Linked DNA regions of Homo sapiens: region 1 is linked to region 2. The links are contacts of gene promoters, found by promoter capture Hi-C in human tissues and cell types (Jung and others, 2019). All regions are on one chromosome and are shown on one strand. Each heading gives the region's core, a stretch centred on a gene start or on the middle of the fragment in contact. The rest is flanking DNA. Distances are from core to core; before and after follow the strand shown. Region 1 overlaps LOC124903507 (a long non-coding RNA gene). Region 2 holds the start of RBPMS2 (RNA binding protein, mRNA processing factor 2).

What was found. Contacts are between HindIII fragments. The study calls those that stand out against the background at their distance.
Region 1: a contact is called between a fragment that was not itself captured here and the fragment with the promoter of RBPMS2 in region 2, in 8 of the 25 tissues and cell types used here (IMR-90 fibroblasts, bladder, heart right ventricle and 5 more).

Annotation. Positions count from the first base shown.
Region 1 is chr15:64,705,783-64,713,509 of GRCh38, forward strand. LOC124903507 (a long non-coding RNA gene) reads left to right here. Exons shown (of 3, transcript XR_007064679.1): 2 at 6,795-6,923. Among named protein-coding and RNA genes, the nearest start is that of OAZ2, 6.4 kb to the left of the region's middle. RefSeq lists a silencer at 5,294-5,494. The HindIII fragment of the contact is 4,561 bases long and covers 2,078-6,638 here.
Region 2 is chr15:64,773,550-64,781,316 of GRCh38, forward strand. RBPMS2 (RNA binding protein, mRNA processing factor 2) reads right to left here and starts at 2,040. Exons shown (of 8, transcript NM_194272.3): 1 at 1,684-2,040. The coding sequence starts at 1,770. RefSeq lists enhancers at 1,901-2,747, 2,748-3,593 and a silencer at 2,216-2,465. The HindIII fragment of the contact is 13,175 bases long and covers 1-6,094 here.

The sequences.
Region 1 (7,727 bases), core at 3,108-5,607, 65 kb before region 2:
TCTCAGCCTCCCGAGTAGCTGGGATTACAGGCGCCCACCACCACACCCGGCTAATTTTTATAGTTTAAGTAGAGACGGGGTTTCACCATGTTGGCCAGGCCAGTCTCGAACTCCTGACCTCAAGTGATCCACCTGCCTCGGCCTCCCAAAGTGCTGGGAATTACAGGCATGAGCCACCGCGCCCGGCCCACTAGCCACATTTCATATGCTTAATAGCCATATGTGGCTAGCAGCCACAGTATTACACAGTATACATATGGAACATGTCTATCATCACAGAAACTTCTACAACAGCACTATATCCCATCACCCCTCTATCCCTGTCTACCCCAGTCACCACCACAGGTTCAAGTCCCTTCTCATCCATTGCCCTCACACTGGCAATCTATCAGACTCTGCTTCCTGCTCCTAACCATACCCTCCCACTGTGCCTTCTGCAACGTGTGATCAGCAAACTCTTCCACATCCTCAGCCTTTTCTCAGCATCCTTGCTTTATCTGAAACTTGGCTATCCACTAACCGCTGCTTCTCCAGCAGCTCTATTAGGTGAATTCTGTTTCTCATTCTCACGTGCCTCAGTGTCAGAAGTGGGTAAGTGTATTCCTCTCCATCCCAATGCCATTTCTAGACCAGTGTTTATCTTCCCCTCCCTCCCACAAAATCCCTGTTCCATTGGGGCTTCACCCTCTAGATATACTATCTTGGTTAATGTCATTAGCCAGCCTCCTGGTTGATGCCCCTTATTTGGCTCATGGCTTGCTGCCTCTCCGCCCCAAATTTTGTCATATTTGGTGAGCTCAAGGTCCACATGATGGCCTCTCAGCCACGCTCCTCTCACTTCCTCGACTTTCTCATCTCCGGTAAGATTTTCAGCACTCCACTGTAGCTGCTAACACACCCTCAACTTTGTTTTCACCAAAAATCATTTCACGTCCAAAATATTGACTCTCCAACCATAACCTTTGCCTTAATTAAACCTTTCAACAAGTCTTTGACCTGTATCAGGAGCTTAACGCTTGACCTCACTAATTCCTCACTATTCATTAGCCCTAAGTTTTTTGTTTGTTTTTTTTAAGAGGAAGAAACTTGTTAAGAGAGATGAGAAAGTAACCTGTCTATGACTGAGCGTGGCAACTCATTCCTATAATCTCAACACTTTGAGAGGCCGAAGTGGGAGGATCACTTGAGCCCAGGAGTTTAAGATTAGCTGTGGGTAATGAGGAGACCCTATAAAAATTTTAAAAAAAAGCCAGCGTGGGGACACACACCTGTGGTTCCAACTACTCGGGAGGCTGCAGTAGGAGGATCGCTTGAGCCTGGGAGGTCAAGGCTGCAGTGAGCTGTGACTGCACCACTGCATTCCAGCCTGGGTGACAGACTAAGACCCTGCCTCAACTTAAAAAACAAAAGAGGCCGGGCGTTGTGGCTCACGCCTGTAATCCCAGCACTTTGGGAGGCCGAGGCGGGCGGATCATGAGGTCAGGAGATCGAGGCCATCCTGGCTAACATGGTGAAACCCCGTCTCTACTAAAAATACAAAAAATTAGCCGGGCGTGGTGGAGGGCACCTGTAGTCCCAGCTACTCGGGAGGCTGAGGCAGGAGAATGGCGTGAACCTGGGAGGCGGAACTTGCAGTGAGCTGAGATCACACCACTGCACTCCAACCTGGGCAACAGAGTGAGACTCCGTCTCAGAAAAAAAGAAAAAAGAAAACGAAAGGAACCTATCTAATGTGTCAAAGCTTTAGTGCAAATACTTGGGTCCAAACTCAGTAGTCACTGTTACCAATTGCAGATTTTTACATAGGACTGAATTATATGGTAAGCCACAGAAATTTGGAATAACTGAAACTCTCCTATTTGAGTCCACTGCCAGCTAATGATACTGTTTTTTTCTGTTTCCCTTGGCAAAGAGAGATAGTAGTTTATTAGAAAAGTAGTCGAGAACCATAAGTGTGAAATTATGTTAAAATAGTTCCCACAAAAATCATTATTTCTTTATGCATATTTTTAAAATTTTAACAAAGATTGTATACATTTATGGTGTACATCACGTTTTCATATATGTATACATTGTAGAAGAGTTAATCAATGATTAAATTTTTTTTTTTTTTTTTTTTTTTTTGAGACGGAGTCTCGCTCTGTCACCCAGGCCAGAGTGCAGTGGCACGATCTTGGCTCACTGCAACTTCCACCTCCCAGGTTCAAGCGATTCTCCTGCCTTAGCCTCCTGAATAGCTGGGATTACAGGCTTGCGCCACCAAGCCTGGCTAATTTTTGTATTTTTAGTAGAGACGGGGTTTTGCCATGTTGGCCAGGCTGGTCTCGAACTCCTGACCTCAAGTGATCCGCACACCTCAGTCTCCCAAAGTGCTGGGATTACAGGCATGAGCCACTGCACCCGGCCAAATCAAGCTTTTTAACATATTTATTATCTTACATCCTTATCATTTTTTTGCAAATATACACTATGTTGTTAACTCTAGCCATCATGATGTAACATAGATCTCTTGAACTTACTCCTCTTGTCTAACTGAAAATTTGTGTCCTTTGACTAACACTTTTCCAATTCCTCTACCTGCCCCCGGCCTCTGGTGACCATCATTTTACTCTCTATTTCTATGAGTTTGACTTTTTGTTTTGTTTATTTGACACAGGGTCTCATTCTTTTGCCTAGGCTGGAGTGCAGTGGAACCAGCATAGCTCACTGGAGCCTCAAATTCCTGGCCTGAAAGGATCCTCCTGCCTCAGCCTACCGAGTAGCTAGGACCACAGGCACATGCCACCATGCCTAGCTAATTGTTTTTTACTCTTTTCTCCAGAGACAGGGTTTCCCTGTGTTGCCCAGGCTGGTCTCAAACTCCTGGTCTCAAGGGATCCTCCTGTCTCAGCCTCCCAAAGCAATGAATGGGATTACAGGTCTGAGCCACCATTCTTGGTCTAAGCTTGATTTTTTTCACACTCTACATGTAAGTGAAATCATGCAGTATTTCTTGTTTTGTGCCTGGTTTATTTCACATAACATAACATCTCCCAGGTTCATCCATGTTGTCGCAAATGATACAGTTTCCTTCTTTTTTTAAGGCTGAATAGTACCCCGTTGTCTATATGTACATTTTTCTTTATTCATTCGTGTGTTGTTGGGCACTGTGGTTGTTTCCATGTGTTGGCTGTTGTGAATAATGCTGCAATGAACATGGGAATACAAATCTCTTTGACATGCTAATTTCAGGTCCTTTGGATATATACCCAGTAGTGGGATTCCTGGATCATAAAGTAGTTCTATTCTTAATGTTTTTTATTTTTTATTTTGAGATGGAGTCTCACTCTCTCACCCAGGCTGGAGTGCAGCGGAGCGATCTCAGCTCACTGCAACCTCCGCCTCCCAGGTTCAAGCGATTCTCCTATCTCAGCCTCCGGAGTAGCTGAGATTACAGGCACACGCCACCACGCCCAGCTAATTTTTTGTATTTTTAGTAGAGACAGGGTTTCACCATGTTGGCCAAGCTGGTCTCAAACTCCTGACCTTGTGATTTGCCTGCCTTGGCCTCCCAAAGTGCTGGGATTATAGGCATGAGCCTCCATGCCCAGACTATTCTTAATGTTTTGAGGAACCGCCATACTGTTTTCCATAAAGGCTATACTAATTCACATTCCCACCAACAGGGTGCAAGGGTTCCCTTTTCTCTGCATCCAGACCAACACTTGTCTTTTGTCTTGTTTTTTCTTTGAGATGGAGTTTCACTCTGTTGTCCAGGCTGGAGTGCAGTGACGTGATTGCAGCTCACTGCAAGCTCCACCTCCTGGGCTCAAGTGATTCTCCTGCTTCAGCCTCCCAAGTAGCTGGGATTACAGGCACCCACCACCACACCCATCTAGTTTTTGTATTTTTAGTAGAGACAGGGTTTCTCCATGTTGGCCAGGCTGGTCTTGAACTCCTGACCTCAAGTGATCCACCCACCTCAGCCTCCCAAAGTGCTGAGATAACAGGCATGAGCCACCATGCCTGACCATCTTTTATCTTTTTAATAATATAATAGTAGTCCTAATTTTGACTCACATCTCTTCTTTTCTTTTTATTTTTTTTTTATTTTTTTTTTTGAGATGGAGTCTCACTCTGTCACCCAGGCTGGAGTGCAGTGGCGCGATCTCGGCTCACTGCAAGCTCTGCCTCCTGGGTTCATGCCATTCTCCTGCCTCAGCCTCCCGTGTAGCTAGGACTACAGGCGCCCGCCACCATGCCCAGCTAATTTTTTGTATTTTTAGTAGAGACGGGGTTTCACCGTGTTAGCCAGGATGGTCTTGATCTCTTGACCTTGTGATCCACCTGCCTCGGCCTCCCAGAGTGCTGGGATTACAGGCGTGAGCCACCGTGCCCGGTCTTTTTTTTTTTTTGCACTCTGTCGCTGAGGATGGAGTATAATTGTGCAATCTCAGCTCCCAGATCCCTTCTTTTCTAGCTTCTTTTTTTCTTTTCTTTTTTTTTTTTTTTTGAGACAGTCTTGCTCTGTTGCCCAGGCTGGAGTGCAGTGGTGTGATCTCTGCTCACTGCAACCTCCGCCTCCCAGATTCAAGCAGTTCTCTGACTCAGCCTCCCGAGTAGCTGGGATCACAAGCACCCATCACAACACCTGGCTAATTTTTGTATTTTTAGTAAAGACAGGATTTCACCATCTTGGCCAGGCTGGTCTTGAACTCCTGACCTTGTGATCCACCTGCCTCGGCCTCCCAAAGTGCTGGGATTACAGGCGTGAGTCACCGTGCCCGGCTTTTTTTTTTTTTTTTAAGACAGGGTCTTGCTCTGTCACCTAGTCTGGAGTCCAGTGGCGCCATCTCGGCTCACTGCAACCTCTGCCTCCTGGATTCTCCTGCCTCAGCCTCCCAAGTAGCTGGGACTACAGGCACATGCCACCATACCCAGCTAATTTTTGTATTTTGGGTGGAGATGGGGTTTCGCCATATTGCCCAGGCTGGTCTTGAATTCCTGGGCTCAAATGATCTGCCCGCCTTGGCCTCCCAAAGTGCTGAGATTACAGGCATGAGCCACCACGCCCAGCCTTTTCTAGCTTGTCTATCATCCATCACTATAACTACTCCTTCCCTCTGTCTCCTCCCATTGTGCTTGCCTGGCAAAGCCCTACTCCACATAAATTCAACCATTTGCTTTCCGAGTGCTTTTGCTACAGCAAAATCACAATACCAGGCAGGTTATCTTCACTCATGTTCATGATCCTAACCTCAAACGGACTGTCAATACTGCTGGGTAATTCCTACTACGTTTCCCCATTAAGTTTGCTTTTCCACTCTCAAGAAGAATTTTTTCCCTAGGCTCTCTCTGCAAAACCTCTACCCCTCTCATCTTAGCTGATGACCTAGCCACCATGTTACTAAGGAAATAGAAGCAATAGGAAATACCCTGTCATTCCTACCACAGCCTACAAACCCATCTGCATCTCCGCCTACTTACATCTGTCTCCTCCTAGTGCTCTGAGAAGTGGATGTCCCTTTGCTAAAGACTAGCCAATCCTGGCCAGGCACAGTGGCTCACACCTATAATCCCAGGAGTTTGGGAGGCCAAGGCAGGCAGATTGCTTGAGCCCAGGAGTTTGAGACCAGCCTGGGCAATGTAAAGAGACCCCCATCTCTACAAAAAAATGTAAAAAATTAGCCAGGCGTGCTGATACACCCCTGTAGTCCCAGCTACTTGGGAGGCTGAGGTAGGAGGATAGCTTGGGCCCAGGAGGTTGAGGCTACAGTGAGCTGTGATCATGCCACTGCACTCCAGCCTGGATGACCCTGTCTATAAAAAAAAAAAAAAAAAAAAAAAAAAAAAAAAAAAAAACTAGCCAATAAAAACTAGCCAATCCCACGGCAAAACCTATGGAACTTCCTCTCTCCCATCTTCAAGGACCTAGTTCCTAAAATCTAAATCTCCCCCTTCAGCACACAAACATGCTCTCTAGTCTTTAAAAAATAGTAACACAGGCTGGGTGCAGTGGCTCACGCCTGTAATCCCAGCACTTTGGGAGGCCGAGGCGGGCAGATCACAAGATCAGGAGTTCAAGACCAACCTGACCAATATAGTGAAACCCCGCCTCTACTAAAAATACAATAATTAGCCAGGCATGGTGGCACACACCTGTAGTCCCAGCTACTCAGGAGGCTGAGGCAAGAGACTCACTTGAACCCAGGAGGTGGAGGTTGCAGTGAGCCAAGATTGCTCCACTGCATCCCAGCCTGGGCGACAGAGCGAGACTCTGTCTCAAAAAAAAAAAAAAAAAAAAAAGTAACATAGTCACTCTGGAAAACAGTTTGGCATTTTCTTAAAAAACTAAACATGCAGCTACCACATGACCAAGAAATTGCATGCCTGGGCATTTATCCCAGAGAAATGAAGACTTATGTTCACACAAAAACCGGTACATATATGTTCATAGCAGCTTTATCCATAATAATAGCAAAAACTTAAAATTAGCTCAGGTATCCTTCAGTAGGTGAATGGTTAAAGAAACCATGGTGCATCCACACCATGGAATATTGCTCAGCAACAAACAGGAATGAACTATCAACACACAGCAACTTGGATGACTCTCCAAGGAATTATGCTGGTTATTTGTTGTTGTTTTGAGACAGGGTCTCACTCTGTGGCCCAGACTGGCATGTAGTGGCATGATCACAGTTCACTGCAGCCTCACCTCTAACTTCCAATCTCAAGTGATCCTCCCACCTCAGCCTCACAAGTAGCTGGGACTATAAGTGTGCACCACATCAGGCTAATTTTTTTATTTTTTGTAGAGATGGGATCTCACTATGTTGCCCAGGCTGGTCTGAAACTCCTGGAATCAAGCAATCCTCCTGCCGCATCCTCCCAAAGTGCTGGGATTACAGACATGAGCCAACGAGCCTGGCCCTGATTTTAAAAAGGTTACATACTGTATGATTCTATTTATATAACAGCTTGTTTTTTTGTTTTTGTTTTTTGAGACACAGTCTCGCGCTGTAGCCCATGCTGGAGTGCAGTGGCGCAATCTCGGCTCACTGCAAGCTCTGCCTCCTGGGTTCATGCCATTCTCCTGCCTCAGCCTCCCTCCCAAGTAGCTGGGACTACAGGTGCCCGCTACCACGCCTGGCTAATCTTTTGTATTTTTAGTAGAGACGGGGTTTCACCGTGTTAGCCAGGATGGTCTCGATCTCCTGACCTCGTGATCCGCCCACCTCAGCCTCCCAAAGTGCTGGGATTACAGGCGGGAGTCACCACGCCCAGCCTGGTTTTTTTGTTTTTTGAGACAGGGTCTCGTTCTGTCACCCACGTTGGAGTGCAGTGGCACAATCTCGTCCACTGCAGCCTTCGCCTCCTGGGTTCAAGCAATTCTCCTGCCTCAGCCTCCTGAGTAGCTGTGATTACAGGTGTGTACCACCATGACTGGCTAATTTTTTTATTTTTAGGAGAGACGGGGTTTCACCATGTTGGCCAGGCTGGTCTTGAACTTCTGGCCTCAGATGATTCACCTGCCTCGGGCTTCCAAAGTGCTGGGATTACAGGTGTGAGCCACCGCACCCGGCCTTATATAACGGTTTTTGAAATGACAAAATTTTCGACCGGGCATGGTAGCTCACGCCTATAATCCTAGCACTGTGGGAGGCCGAGATGGGCAGATCACCTGAGGCCAGGAGTTTGAGACCAGCCTGGTCAATATGGCAAAACCCCATCTCTACCAAAAATTTAAA
Region 2 (7,767 bases), core at 790-3,289:
GGAGTGGCTAAAACCTCAAATGCTTTTTTCAAGACTTAGAATGGCCACATGGGTCACCCTTCTCACCCAACAGCAGTGGGTCTGAGGGTTTGCCCAGTACCAGCCTCTTGGGCAGTGTGAAGTCCCCACTGAAGTAGACCCTTTAGCAGAAGTGGGGTTCTGGGTCCCCATTCAGCTTTATAGGAGACATGCTCTCCCCCAGTTTCAGCCCACAGCAGGGGGCCAAGCAGAGACTCCAAGTACGCTAGCAACCCTGTCACCCTCCCCAACTGTCAAGGGAGATTCTAACAGCCAGGTAGAGTCAGGATGGGGGCAAGATCCCCAAAGCCAAGGGCCTTTTGGCATCAAGGTACAAGGAGGGCAAGGCCTCTGGAGCCCAAACAAATCCACCACACTTAAGTCATTAGTGGACAGATGTCACAGTTGTATATTCTTCCCTTCCCCTTCCGCCAAAAAGTGGAGATCCAAACCTAGATTGTCATCGACTGGGGCTGGCTGAAGGTCTCTGAATAGCCGAGTGGGAGCTGGCGGCGCTGAGCCCAGCCCAGCCGAGGGCCACCGGCGCCATTCTGCACCAACCCCCAGCACAAGGGGAGGAGGCAACACCAGTCCACACCAGGGGCTCTGCGGTTTCTCCCCCAGGCCAAGGGGAAGGGCGCCCAAGGTGGATAACCAGCCCTTGGTTTCCTGGGCGAGAACATGCCAGGGCAGGGGCAGGAAGGCTCTCTCACCCCTAGAATGACGCAGCAGAGGCCAGAGGCCCTGCGAAGCCTGTCCCCTTCTACTCCAGTTCTTGTCTCCGCCAGCCTAGCTCCTCGTCCCTATTCACTGATATCTTTGAGGCTTTTATCCAGCACCCCACCCCGCACACACATCCTCCCTACCATCCATTAACCACCCAGCTGCTGGTGGTTCCACGGAGCCGCCTTACACTCCCTCCCTTTCGCACATGGCCGGTGGACGAGATGATTTCGCCCCTCCTGGCAGGATCCCACCCAGGCCAGCTTTGGGGTCCTGGCTTGGTTGCCAGGACAAACCCAGAGAGAGGAGAAGGACGAACTGAGTGTCTTTAGTCATCTTCCAAACTAATTAAATTGTGGGCTCACCTCTGCCAAAGCCCAGGTTCTGGGGCTGTGAAGAAAGCCCGCCCACCCCCATGACAACAGCTCGCAGGAACCGAGGAGCCGGCCGGCCCAGGCCTCCAAGGTCACGGGGAGGGGGTCAGGGCGGAAAAGGCAGTGGAGTGAGGGTGCCGCCCTCGGGCCGTGCTAATCCCGCTCCGCTCCGTGCCGCCGAGGCGGGGTCCTGGCCACGCAGGAGGTGCGCCTCGGAGGAGGGCGGCGAGCGGCTACGGGGTGGGGAGCAAGGGGCGCGCGGGCGGCAGGCATGGAACGGACGCGGCGCATCTCGCCCACCGCGGGACGCCCGGACGGCGGCCGGCGCGCGCGGCCCGCCTCGAGCCCGAGAGGGCGGGGAGACAATGCCTGTCCGGCGGGGCAGTCCAGGCCGCACGCTCCCGCCCGCGGACACGGGCCGCTCCTACCCGGGCGAGAGGGCAGCGGCGGGAAGGCGCCGGGAGCGATGGCCACCCCGGCCCCGCGAGGCGCGGCAGGCCCCGCTCGCCCTCTCCCGCGCCCGCCTGGCGTGCGCTTCACCCGGCAAGTCCCGGGGCCACAGACCCACCTCCTCCTCCAGGGCGCCGCCGGAGCCCGCGCCGGAGCCGGTGCCGGTGCTGCCGCCGTGCTCGCCGTCCGGCTTCAGGTTGCTCATGGTGCGGGGGAGGGGGCGGCGGGAAGGAACGCGAGGGCGAGCGCGGCGCCGGCCCCGCGGGAAGTGGGAAGGGGCGCGGGGAGCGGTGCGCTCGCGGGTGCGGAGCGGGTGGCGGGGGACCCACGGGGCAGTGAGAGGGGCAGCCTCCGCGTCGGGCCAGGGTCACATCAAGTTTGGCGGGTGCGGAAGGTGGGGAGGGGGTGCGGCGGGGGAGGCAGTGGGAGCCGGAGGGGCCGCCGCCTCCGCCTTTTCACTGCGACCGGCGAGTGCGCCGCGGCGGCGGCGGCGGCGGCAGCGGCGGCGGGGGGCGGGCGCCGGGGGAGGGGGCGGGCGCCGGCGGCGGGGGGCGGGGCCGGAACCGGCCTCAGCTGGGGCCCGGCCAGCCCCCTCCCCCGCCCGCCGCGCGGTCTCCGGGGGAACGCGCAGCCAATCCCCACCGCCCACCGTGGGCTCGCCCCGGCCCCGGCCGCGGGGCGCCGGCCTCCGGCCGGGCCTTTCCCCTCTCTCTCGCCTGGGTCAGCGCTCTCCCTCTCTCCTCTTCCCCCGCGCCCTTCTCCACGGCGAGTTTTTAAACTTTGATGAACTCGCCCGGCGAACTTTCTTAAAGGGGCCGCGCGCTGCGCGCCCCAGCCCGCGGGAGGTGGAGCCCCGTGCCCCGCACCCAGCGCCCCGGTCCCTGGGCGGCCCTGCCCGGGCGGCCTCGCGCTTAGGGCACCCGCAGCGAGGTTTCCGGGCCGTCGACTCCCCTTGTATCTTGATCTAGGGTTTTGGGGTTCCCGACGCACTCATTCTGCCCCTAAATCCAGTCGCGCAGACCTCAGCTCCGGGGGACCGAGTTCTGGGGGTGATGGCCGGGGGGAGGGGGTTGGGAGACACCTGAGCTTTGGCCCGGGCTGGGCGCTGTTTTGCTGAGTGACCTTGAGGAAATCACTTCCCCTCTCTGGCCTCAGGCTCCCAGCCCAGAGGGTGGGACTTAGGATCTCAAACTCCCTTCCCACTCCCAGTCACTATCTGAATAGGACTTAGGTGGGGATTCGAGTGTTGGGACCCCAATGGTCATTAGCGAGGGCTGCCTCGAATGACCAAGAAGGTTCTGTTGCCCACCTTGCCCTCAACACGCCTGGCTTTCGGGTCTTCTCGCTCCTCCCCCGACCTCAGTGCCCCTCACACCTTTCCCTGCCTCCTATTCTGAGCCCGAAGGCTGGGGACGGATGTAATAGCCTAGAGGCTGGGGGAGGTGGGGGAGGTCGTCGTGACTCCCCCCGCACCCCCGCGCAGGTCAGTAGGGCGCGGCCTCTGGGTCGGTTTTCTCTTCTATTTGAAAACCCAGCCGATGGGGGCCCGCCCTGCTGCCACAGTAGAAACCCGCACCCACCTCGGGGAGCGCTGGAAGCGCTGCAGCCTGAATCCGGCAGAGCCGCGGGAGAACTGGGTCCCTCCTCAGTGCCCCTTCTCCTGGACGGGGCGGAGGTTGCGGTGACCCGAGATCTTGCCATTGCACTCCAGCCAGGGCAACAAGAGCGAAACTCCGTCTCAAAAAAAGAAAAGAAAAAAGAAAAGCTGGATTTGCAGTCACGGACTGGTTAGGATCCCAGACCGTGGACAAGTGCCTGAGCCCCCAGAACCTCTGTGTGTCGACCTCCTGAATTAGGTAGGACTAGCACCACAGGATCACTGTGCTGTGGCTTAGTCTTCCCAGTAAATTATAATCTCCATCCTGACCTGCCATCTCACAGATAAATTGAGGCCTAGAGATGGGCAATGTCTTTCCAATGATATACTCATTCCTTTAGTAAATAATTATTGAGCACCTACTGTGGGCTGGGGACCATTTTCTGCTGGTGGCAAGGCCAAGAGCACCCTGGTTTCCCATCAGCCCTGTTGCCAACACTTGGCTCAGGCCCTATGAAGAGGGAGCTGCTGCCTGTAGGAGCCAGACCTTTACCCAGAGTTTTTAAGATGCCTCCAGCCTCAGGCATCTCCAGATAGAACCAACCTTGGGAACCCTCAGATACCCCTACCATCCTCCACAGGCCTCAGTCCAATCTGGCTGTGGGCTTGATCACCATCCCCTCCCCTAGAATAGGTCTTCCTATCAGGTTTGTCTCTAACTTTGGCCCAGGAATACTCTTCCTCTTCCTCTTCCTCCCCCGCTCCCCCTAATCAATCCAAAATCTTCCCTTCCCTCAAGATCCTGCCTTTCCCATGCTTTTTCCAGGAGAAGGAGCCTGGCCAGATTTCTGAACTCAGCCATTATATGGTTAATTTGAATTTTTCAAAGAAGAGCCTCTCATCTTGTAATTCTGGTCACCCTTCTTCTCCATTCTGGTCTCTGTTTTCTCCATAGATGGGAGAGCTAAGGCCCAAAAAGGTGACAAATGACACAGGGGCCACAACTGACCCCCATCACTACATTTCTTTTCTTTTTTCATTTTTTTTTTTTTTGTTTTGGGGGCTTTTTTGAGATGCAGTCTTGCTCTGTTGCCAGACTGGAGTGCAGTGATGCGATCTCGGCTCACTGCAACCTCCACCTCCCAGTTTCAAGCTATTCTGCCTCAGCCTCCTGAGTAGCTGGGACTACAGGAACGCACAACCACGCCCAGCTAACTTTTGTATTTTTAGTAGAGACGGTTTCCCCATGTTGGTGAGGATGATCTTGATCTCTTGACCTTGTAATCTGCCCCCATCAGCCTCCCAAAGTGCTGAGATTACAGGCGTGAGCCACCGCGCCCGGCCTTCTTTTCTTTTTTTAGAAAAAAGATCTTGCTCTGTCACCCAAGCTGGAGTGCAGTGGCACAATCACAGCTCACTCCAGCCTTGAACTCCTGGGCTCAAGTGATCCTTCTACCTCAGCCTCCCAGGTAGCTGTGATTACAGGTGCAACACCACGCCCAGCTAATTTTTTTTTTTTTTTTTTAAGAGACTGGCCTCTCATTATGTTGTCCCAAGCTGGTGTTGAACTCCTGGGCTCAAGTGATCCTCCCACCTTGGCCTCCCAAAGTGCTGGTATTATAGGCGTGAGCCACCACACCCAGCCTGTATTTCTTCTTAAGTTCTTCATAATTTGTAGTAAATGCTTACCCCTTATTAGACTGCCATTACTTATTTAACCTGTCTCTTGTTAGATATTTGTATTATTTCCAGTTTATTTTCTCTTTTGCCTTCATAGGCAAACTTTATATGAGGATTCTTTTTTTTTTCTTTTTCTTTGAGACGGAGTCTCACTATGTCACCAGGCTTGAGTGCAGTGCATCCTCCATCTCCCAGGTTCGAGCAGTTCTCGTGCCTCAGCCTCCTGAGTAGCTGGGATTACAGGTGCCTGCCACCACACTCGCTGTCACACCTGGCTAATTTTTGTATTTTTAGTAGGGACAAGGTTTCACCGTGTTGGCCAGGCTGGTCTTGAACTCCTGGCCTCAAGTAATCTGCTCACCTTGGCCTCTCAAAGTGCTGAGATTACAGGCATGAGCCCGCCCTCTTATATGAGCATTCTTAATGCCTCAGAAAGTTTCCTGTATGTGTGACCAGCCCTTAAGCACTTTGGAGGCAACAACTGTCTTTTCCCTCTCTGTGCACCCCTATGGCCCCTGAAATGGCAGAATCTCCAATCTCACATGGATTTGGAGATCATATAAACACAAAGCTCCCACCCAGCCCGCACCTTCATGAGTAGTCAGGCGTACCCATTGGTGCTGACCAGAAGCTGATGTGAAAGAGGCTAGAGAGAGGAGTTTGGGGTGTACAACTCTTTCAGACATCTGAAGGGTAGGAACTTATATCTCTGTCTCCCCAGCTATGACCTAGTAGTGTAGCCTCTAGTAATCTCTTCAGTGCCCCAGGCCTCCCCCACTGTCATGCTCCATATCACCTCTGAGCTTCTCGAATTTCTATTCCTTTTGTCTGGAATCCTCCCATCCTCACTCTCCACCCCCAGCTTCCAGACCTTTCCCAGTACCCATTCTCTCTCCCCTGTGCTCTCAGAGTGCCTTCTCTGTGTCGTGTTGAACCTGGGAATACCTTGTTTTGAAGTCTCACCTACCACATGGGAAGCTTTCTGACTCCAAGGAGTGGCTGTAAACCCTGCTGAGTGAGTAGAACTCCTTAACCTCTGCAGCCCCCTGGCCTCCAGCAAGGAGCAGATGATGGTGGGCATTTTCAGTAGTAGGTGTTTAATAAACCTTTGCTGAACCAATACTGGGCTATTCCTGGAGCTTCTGGGCTATCTGAAGCCAATGGCCCTTTCTCTTTGATGTACTGTACATACATCATCCTTCAATATTTCATCCTTAGGGTAGGGAAAAGAGATGGCCTCACTCCTGGGAAACACTGCCCTGGAACTCAACTCCTGAGAGTGTGCCTGGCTACTTCAGGGCAGGCCCCCATTCTGACCCCAACTTTCCCACCACCAGGAAAGCCTAGGCAATAAGAAGGCAGATAGAAGCTGGGCTTGGTGGTGTGCGCCTATAGTCCCTGCCACTTTGGAGGCTGAGCTGGGAGGATTAATTGAGCCCATCAAGTCTAGATGGGGCAACATAGCAAGATCCCCTCTTTATTTAAAAGAAAAAGAAGAAAGGCAGGTAGAGAGGATGACCTTGAAGCTTAAAGGCTGAGATGTGTCTGAGTTATATTTTCTTTTTCTTTATTTTTTTGGGGGGAAGTCAGGGTCTTGCCCTGTCACCCAGGCTGGAATGTAGTAGCACAGTCTTGGCTCATTGCAACCTTCACCTCCTGGGTTCAAGCGATTCTCCCACCTCAGCCTCCCAAGTAGGTGGGAATACAGGATCCCCCCACCAGGCCCAGCTAACTTTCCCTAGCAGGGTTTCACCATGTTGGCCAGGCTGGTTTCGAACTCCTAACCTCAAGTGATCCACCTGCCTCAGCCTCCCAAAGTGCTAAGATTACAGGCGTTAGCCACCGTGCCTGGCCATACTTTTTGTATTTTAGTAGAGATGGGTTTTGCCACGTTGCCCAGGCTGGTCTCAAACTCCTGGCCTCAAGTGATCCACCCACCTTGGCCTCCCAAAGTGCTGAGATTATAGGCATGAGCCACCACACCCAGCCATCTGAGGTATATTTTCTTGGTGCTCATAGGTTTTTGTTTATTTATTTTGAGACAGAGTCTCACTCTGTTGTCTAGGCTGGAATGCAATGGTGTGATCTCAGCTCACCACAACCTCCATCTCCTGGGTTCAATCAATTCTCCTGTCTTAGCCTCCTGAGTAGCTGGGATTACGGGTGCGTGCCACCATGCCCAGCTAATTTTTGTATTTTTAGTAGAGATGGGGTTTTACCATGTTGGCCAGGCTGGTCTCGAACTCCTGAGCTCAAGTGATCCGCCTGCCTTAGCCTCTCAAAGTGCTGAGATTATAGGTGTGAGCCACCACGCCCGCCCATTGTTTATAGGTTTAAGCTCCACTTAAGTGCAAGAAGTCTCTGGAGGGAAAGGGGACAGGCTACTGCCCCAAGCAGTTAATCTTTCTATTGTTCCTGCTATCCCTAGTTATAGGATTAAGGGACCTTCACGAGCCACTGGCAGATGGCATGGATGGTGGGAAAAGCATGAAATAGCCCTGTGATAGAATTCTGATTCTGTAACCTTGGGCAAGTTGCCAGCTAGTATCAGTCAGTTCATCTGTAAAATCGGAATACTAGTACACAATTGCAAGAATGTGTTAAGTAAGATAAGAGCTCATGGTAAGCTCTTGGAGGTTGTGATTATTGCCCTGGGTCCACTGCTAGTTTGCAGGTCAAGGTCACAGACTGGGTAATTTCTTTTTTTTGAGAAGGAGTCTCACTCTGTCACCCAGGCTAGAGTGCAATGGTGCGATCTCGGCTCACTGCAACCTCTGCCTCCCAGGTTCAAGTGATTCTCCCGCCTCAGCCTTCCCAGTAGCTGGGACTACAGGCACCCATCATCATGCCTGGTTAATTTTTGTATTTTTGTAGAGACAGGGTTTCACCATGTTGGCCAGGCTGGTCTCAAACTCCTGACCGCAG